2 separate regions of the Homo sapiens genome follow, and region 2 is linked to region 1. The links are contacts of gene promoters, found by promoter capture Hi-C in human tissues and cell types (Jung and others, 2019). All regions are on one chromosome and are shown on one strand. Each heading gives the region's core, a stretch centred on a gene start or on the middle of the fragment in contact. The rest is flanking DNA. Distances are from core to core; before and after follow the strand shown. Region 1 holds the start of OXTR (oxytocin receptor). Region 2 overlaps LOC107986061 (a long non-coding RNA gene).

Region 1 (3,694 bases), core at 1-2,500:
CCGCGTTTCTCTTCCGACGCGGGTAGGGCGTGCTTGTCCCATTCCCAGGAACCCAACTCATCTGAAACAACAGGGCACAACCGCCGGCCTCGGGTTGCTCAGCCGCCACCCCAGAAATCCCCGTTGGAGGTACCTCCTCTGAGCCACTGCAAATGAGCGGGAATCCTCTACCGGCCACAAGCCCAGAGCCCCCAGCGTGCCAGTTCCTCGGGATGTTCAGCGGCTTCCACTGGGGGAGAAGGGAGGGTCAAAATCAGCAACGTTCCTCCGGGAGTGGGAATCTAAAACCAAATCACCTCCCCGAGGGAATCTCCAAACTACCTACTCGCCCCAGGCTCCGACCCTCAGCATATCCACCTGCCGCGGGACCCCCAAACCAGCCCCTCTCCTAGTAAACATTAATTCAAGTACTTCCTCCGGAAATCCCCAAATAGCCACTTGCCTGGGAAACCCCAGCTCTGGTCCTTCCCCGTCTAACCCCCTTTTCTAAGACGGTCGGCCGTCACTCCCTGAACTTCCACAGCACCTGCTTCGGTGGAAACCCGGTTCTGCAGTCCCTGCTGGGGGAACCCCTGCCTCAAAGCCCAAGATGCCCAAGCGCTGTTCCCAGACCCTGGCATAGACACCTCCCGCGGGGCTCCTCCCCAGCCCGGCAGCCTCGAAAGTTCTGGAACCCCTGACTTGCGCTTTGGACCCAGATAATCAAGGACTCTGAGTCTCAATCCCGAGAAGTCACTTTACAATCTCTCGGAACACCCCGAGCTCCTCCAGGAACAAGGAGTGCGAGGCACCCCACCACCTCCACTCGGGTCCCGATGGCTCCACCGGCCCTAGCCATCCCGTCCACCCCTGCTTAGCACCCAGCTACCTGCACCGAGTCCGCAGGCGAACCTAAAGTTGACTCCCCCCGGGGAAGTTGCACGGCGACTGACGGCCCCAGTGACGCGTGCGCTCCCGGCCCGAGTTGGGATGGCCTGCCGGCTGCACCTAATGTGATGCTAAGCTGAGGTCTCTCACTGGAGCCTCGGTTGGAATCCCCTCGCCGCAGCCTGGCTGGTCGCTGGATGGGTACAGGAGGCGAGCGAGGAGCGCCTCCCAGGCTGCGCGCGCGGACAGCGTCTGGATGCGGCGCTGTGCGCTGGGGCTGAGGCTGCACTATCGCACGGGTCCGCTAGGGGGCGGGCGAGGCCAGCCGCGCAGACCCCTCCGGAGCGGAGCTGGTTCGCCCAGCGTTGGTCCCAGAGCCTTAACAAATGGGTTTATTTTGCAGTGGTTTAAAACTGCGAGAGGGAGGGAACTCGTCAATAACCCGCCCGTTTCTTCCTTTCTTGGTTTAGAAGCTCTTGACTCCGAGACACATAGGAGGCTTGAATAATAATGTTCTTCCCCGGGTAGATAGTGATGAAGTTACAAAAGCATTTAAACTGATTATTTCCCAAAAATGATGTTAATTTTCAGGCTTTTCTCTCCCCCCACACCTCCAGCTTGATGTAGCGGCTTTAGCAGTGAACTCAAATAAGTCTTTGCTTTGGAATACTTTTGTTCCTATTCCCGTTAATGAGGAATTAGAAATGGCCTCTATTCTAAGCAGTGCTGGGAGAGGCGTTATTTTTTCGGTAGTTTTAGAGGAAATTCTGAAGCACAACACTGTCTTCATTTAAAGTGATTCTGCTTGTCTGCGCCCAAGAGCCGTTTCTGCCTCCTTGTCGCGCTTCGGAATTAAAATTCTAAATGATGCCAAAGGAAGATAAAATGTTAAAGACAGCTTCTCAGCCTCCCTGCCCCTTCTCTATTCTAAAATCATTTTTTGAAGTAATTTACAGTGGCCAAGAATTAAGTCAGAAAAAAAGGCCAGGATTCAAAAATAAACAGGGCTCTTTAAAATGCATTAAATGTGTATTTCCTCCTGACATTTCACTTCTCCGTCTTTTTATTATGTGGAGAGACTTGAGTTAGCCAAGGACTGGGTTTCCTTAATCCACAATTACAGCCCCATGCCGAGATATCCCAGGGGCCAACCTTACAGCACCTGGATCCCAGGGTTCTAGCTGAGTAATCATTCCAGAATGGGGCTGGGAATCTTGACAGCATTGCCAAGGGGTGGCAGGCAGTATTAATCAATATTAGTCAATAGTACCTATCGGCCTCGAAAATTACAGATTAAAGTTACAGACGACTCAGGTGAGAATGAAGTGACCTTGGGCAAGCCCCTTCTCTTTGGGCCTCAGTCTCCTCATATGTAAAATGAGAGCACTGGTCAAGATAGCTAATGTCTGAGGTCCTGTCCCTCTGGTTTTCTGAAACTGTATAATCTGTGCAATCTGAGGGTTCAATCCTAGCAGGTAAAACACCCCTGCCTCACTCCACGGCTGGATGAAGGCAGATTTTTCCCTATGAGCCCCTGACCGGTGAATGTGAGAAGGAAAACACTGGCCTGTAGAACCAAGCCTGCCCTTCTTTCTCCTGGAAGACAGCTGCTTTCTAGGGAGCAAGTTTACTGAGCCACTTCACCAAGGACAGACTCTTCTACCCTTTGTAGGGAAGCCTGCCTACCTGTGTGGTCCTCGCGTAGCCCGTGAGACAGCCTAATTCTGGATTCACCTAACAGGGCTATTTAGTCTCATGCAAAAGGTAAATTCTCTAACTTAGTTTTAATCTAAACAACAACAATAACAACAACAGTAATAGTGTGATCCCCATTTCCTGTCTTTTGTTTTATTTCTCATTGTGTGCAGAAACCAGGCAGGAAATAGAGAGGTCCCCTTGAAAACTCCTAACAATGAATAAGACATGCTCCTTCACCTTTGAGCTTCGGCCAGGGAGAAAAACACATATTAGATTGGTGCAAAAGTAATTGTGGTTTTTGCTATTAAAAATAATGGCAAAAACTGCAATTACTTTTGCATCAACCTAATATTTGCAGTGTGACAACAATAAATGATGTTACAGAAGTGAGGACTGCTGGGGGCTGAGGTAATACTTGGGAGATCGTTTTACAAAGAGGTAGCTGGATTTCAGAGCTCCAGAATGAGTTCTCCAGGAAGCAAAGAAAAAAGGCATACTTCTCAGAGAGTGGTGCAGGGGAATCACTTTGGCGTTTTGGAGGAAGGACTAAAGATGAATTGCTTGGTGCCTAGCACATTGCCAGCACTTAATACATACAGTTGGCCCTCTATATCCCTGTATCTGTGAGTTCAGTGGATTCAAACAATCATGGATTGAAAATATTCAGGAAAAAAAATCCTCAAAGTTCCAAAAAGCAAAAATTGAATTTGTCATGTGCCACCTACAACACTGAATGCACACAAATGCAGTGACGAGTGACATTGCATTAGGTGTTACAAGTAATCTTGAGATGACTTAAAGTATGTGAGAGGATATGCACGTGTTATATGCAAATACTGCTTCATTTTATATCAGGGATTTGTGTACCTTGAAGGCTCCCGGAACCAATCCCCCATGGATACCAAGAGATAACTGTACTTATTGATGCTAAAGGAACTTCAAGGCCATGTAAAGGAGAATGGGTTTTATTCTGTAACCCAACATTCCCCAAAATATGGGATGGAATACTTTCTGATAGTGTTAAATGTGAATTTAATATTGAGTGATACTGAATAACAGGGAGGAAATTCAGTTCTCAGTTCTGCTTACTTTTGACGTCAGCAAAGAGAAAGTCTGATATAACAAAAAT
Region 2 (3,748 bases), core at 1,126-3,625, 55 kb after region 1:
AAATTTCTGTTTCCAAGGTGAAAAATAAATTCCAAGCATTCAGGAAAGAGGCCAGCATGTCTCTCCCACTTCTACAATGCCTAGCAATAGGGCCGGGAACAAAGTAAGGGCTGAGTAAAGACCCATCAATGGCTGACTCCCTGGCTTATTGTCCTGTCCTTGGTTCAGTTTCATTAGAGGGAAGAAATGCTCTTTATGGCTTCTTTCTCCTTCCTTCACCCCTGGCCAGTCAAGCCCAGGCTATTGCAAAATCATTTTTTAGAAATTAATCTCAGCAAAGGAGCAAATTATTTTGCCCTTAGTCATCAGAACTGGCCTGGTTCCCTGAGGGTGAGAGTGAAATAAACCTCTCTCTCTGCAGAGCGGACTATGAAGAGAGATTGGCTACTCCTGGAAGACTGGTTGGATGGTTTTGATGATGGAGTTTACCAAGGAAAGCAAGGAATCATCTATTGGTGAACAAGGTTCTGAATCAGTCCCTGGATTGTGTCCTAGAGGAATAACGAGAATCATCAGATGTGGACTCTGTCCTCTAAAGCTTCCAGTCCAGAGGCGAGAAAAGAAACGTGGATATGAAAGTATAAAATCAAAGCTATAAAGTGCCACAAGAATGACTCGCTCCATAATTCAACCGACATTTTGTTAGCATTTACTATGTGCTTGTGTGCTGGGCATTGGGGGATGCATAAGTGAATATATGATTTCCTTCTACAAAGGGACTATGAAATAAAGGGAGAGGAAAAGGGATGCCTTATGATGGGGAGTGGGGAATGATCCTACCCTTGAAAACTGGGTAGGAATTTAGCAATTAGAAATTGGACTATTCCAAATGCGGTTGGAAGAAAACTCCTATGATAACCCCAATTAATGCAGTAAGAGCATTTAATAAAATTCGACTTACTTTCATGTTAAAAACAAAAACACTTAACCTAGAAATAGTAGGGGGCATTTGATTAACGTGATAAAGTGCTTCTACAAGAAGTTACAGAGGGCATTATAATTAATGTTGAAATATTGAAAGCATTCCCCTGAAAATCAGGAGCCTGAAAGTTAAGGATGTATGCTAATATCAACTTCTATTCTACACTTAACTAGAAGTCCTAAATGGTACAGAAGATTAAAAAGTAAAGATATATGGATTGTAAAGGAAGAAACAACACTATCATTATTTGCAGATAATACGTCTGTCTGCAAAGAAAACTCCAAAGAACTCTCAGGTAAATCATTAGAATTACTAAGATAATTTAGTAAGGTTGCTCAGTCCAAAATAGACAAAAATAATTTCATTTTTATATACAAGCATCAGGCAAAAAGTGACTTTTTTATTTAAAAAAAAAAGATATTTACCATAGCAACAAAAATAGGTACCTAGAAAAAAAATAACAAAAAAAGGAAGCTCTTTATAGAGAGTATGATAAAACCTTATTAAGAAATATATTAAATAAGACCTAAGTATGTGGAGACATAAACCCTATCCGTGGAAGGAATTGTAAATATGTCAGCTCTCTTCCAATTGATCTAGAGACTCATTGCAACTCCCGTCACAATTCCAACAGAGTTCTTCATGAATACTGGCAAGCTGATTCTGAAATATAAATGGAAGAACAAAAGGCAGGGAATGGCCAAGACATTCCTGAAGAGGAAAAACAAGGTGATGATTCTTGCCCTCTCAAATATGAAAATATATTTAAAGCTTTAATACTTAAAGCAGCGTGGAGTGCTGCAAATAGATCAGTGGCACAGTATGGAGAGAGATCTTGTACCTACCCATGCATTTATGGAAAATAGATTTATAACCATGCAGGTGTGCTTGATGGTTTATTTGTTCACCCAGATGCAGTCTCCAACCTGCTCCACTCAGTTCTGTACTCCAGAGCAGACCTCTGTGGCCTGCATTGGTGGGTTCCCTGCCCTCTGGCTTCCAGCTGGGTTATGGTGGATTTACCACCAAATCTACAGGAGGGACAGCATGAGGTTGAGCAGACAGGTGTTTAGTCCTCTGGCCAACTCTGTCTCTCCTGGGTCAAGGTGATTGGTATGTTTCTCTGTGGAAGTCTCCCCTTCTATTTGGAGGTCTTCCTCCACTCCTCCCTCTGGGTCCAGTAACTCCTGCCTTTCCTTGACTCTCAAGGTTAGAAGTGGTAAGGGTTTCAGCTCTTGCCAGTTGAAACTGCTTCATCACCTATTAGTGATGCTTCACTAATAGGTGCTTCATCACCTATTAGTTTCCCTTACCTCAGCCTCTCCTTTGTAAATACTGCCTTTTTTAAACTCTCTTTAATGTTAATGTTTGAGTGTGCCTTCTGTTTCTCGCCAGTACCCTGATTGATACAGGCAGTCCTGCAGATTGGTGAGGAAAAGAAGGCTCATTCAGTAAACTGTGCTAGGAAAACTGATGACTCATGAGGGAAGAAAATTATAAACACAAAAATCAGTTCCTCAGACCTCAGTATAAGAAAATATACTAAGATAAGAAAGTATGAGAAAGGATTTTATAAACAAGATATATAAATACACCAACTGTAAAGGAACAGGTTAATAATATTCAATACATTAAAATTAAGGACTTCTGTTCATCAAAAGCAACTTGAAAGGAGTGAAAAGACAGTTCACAAACTTGGAGAAGACATTTGCAAAACTTAAAGCCAACAAATAATTGTTACTTAGACCTCTGCTGTCCAAGATGGCAGCTATTAGATATATGGCTATTAAAACTAAAAATAGACTGGGCACAGTGGCTCACGCCTGTAATACCAGCACTTTGGGAGGCCAAGGTGGGTGGATCACCTGAGGTCAGGATTTTGAGACCAGCCTCACCAACATGGTGAAACCCCATATCTACCAAAAATAAAAAAATTAGCTGGGTGTCGTGGTACATGCCTCTGTAATCCAGCTTCTTGGGAGGCTGAGGCAGGTGAATCACTTGAACCTGAGAGACAGAAGTTGCAGTGAGCCAAGATCGCGCCACTACACTCCAGCCTGGGCAACAAGAGCAAAACTCCATCTCAAAATAAATACATAAATAAATAAACACACTAAAAATAATATTGAAAATTTAGTTCCTCTGCTGCACTAGTTTCAAATGCTCAGTAGCATGTGGCTAGTGGCTACCATATTGGACAGTGCAGACAGAGAACATTTCTATCATCACAGAAAGTTCTGTTGAGAAGCCCTTATCTAGAATATAGAACAGCTCCTAGAAATCACTAAGAAAAAAAGCAAATAGCCCACAATGGTTAATTTTATGTATCAACTTGACTGCACCATGGGGTGCCCAGACCAAACACTGCTTCTGAGTGTGTCTGTGAGGGTTTTCCAAGATAAGATTAGTATTTGAATCAGTGGACCCAGTAAAGTAGATTGCCTCCTCAATGTTGGTGGGCATCATTCAACCCATTGAGAGCCTAGATAAACAAAAAAGGCAGAGGAAGGAGGAATTTTTGCTTAATGTCTTTGACTGAGCTGAGACAACTGCCTTCTCCTGCCCATAGACTAGTATAAAACTATCAGCTCTCCTAGTACTCAGGCCTTTGGACTCAGAATGGAATTACACCACCAGCTTTCCTGGGTCTTCAGCTTGTGGACAGCAGATCATGGGACATTTCAGTCTCTGTAAACATGTGAGCCAATTCCTCACAATAAATCTCTCCCTATGTATCTCCTATTTGTTCTGTTTCTCTGGAGAACCCTGACTAATACATAGCCCGGTCAAAAAAAAATGAGCAAGATAAAAGAACAAGTATTTCAG

The links. The method cuts DNA at HindIII sites, captures the fragments that hold promoters and counts their contacts. A contact is called where the count stands out against the background at its distance.
Region 2: a fragment that was not itself captured here is called in contact with the fragment with the promoter of OXTR in region 1 in 3 of the 25 tissues and cell types used here (IMR-90 fibroblasts, aorta and mesenchymal stem cells).

What each region holds. Positions count from the first base shown.
Region 1 is chr3:8,768,363-8,772,056 of GRCh38, forward strand. It overlaps OXTR (oxytocin receptor), which reads right to left and starts at 1,251. Exons shown (of 4, transcript NM_000916.4): 1 at 869-1,251; 2 at 134-229. RefSeq lists enhancers at 47-718, 1,366-1,415. The HindIII fragment of the contact is 11,538 bases long and covers 1-3,694 here.
Region 2 is chr3:8,822,051-8,825,798 of GRCh38, forward strand. LOC107986061 (a long non-coding RNA gene) reads right to left here. Exons shown (of 2, transcript XR_001740592.2): 1 at 2,219-3,748; 2 at 1-2,182. Among named protein-coding and RNA genes, the nearest start is that of OXTR, 54 kb to the left of the region's middle. The HindIII fragment of the contact is 6,649 bases long and covers 1-3,748 here.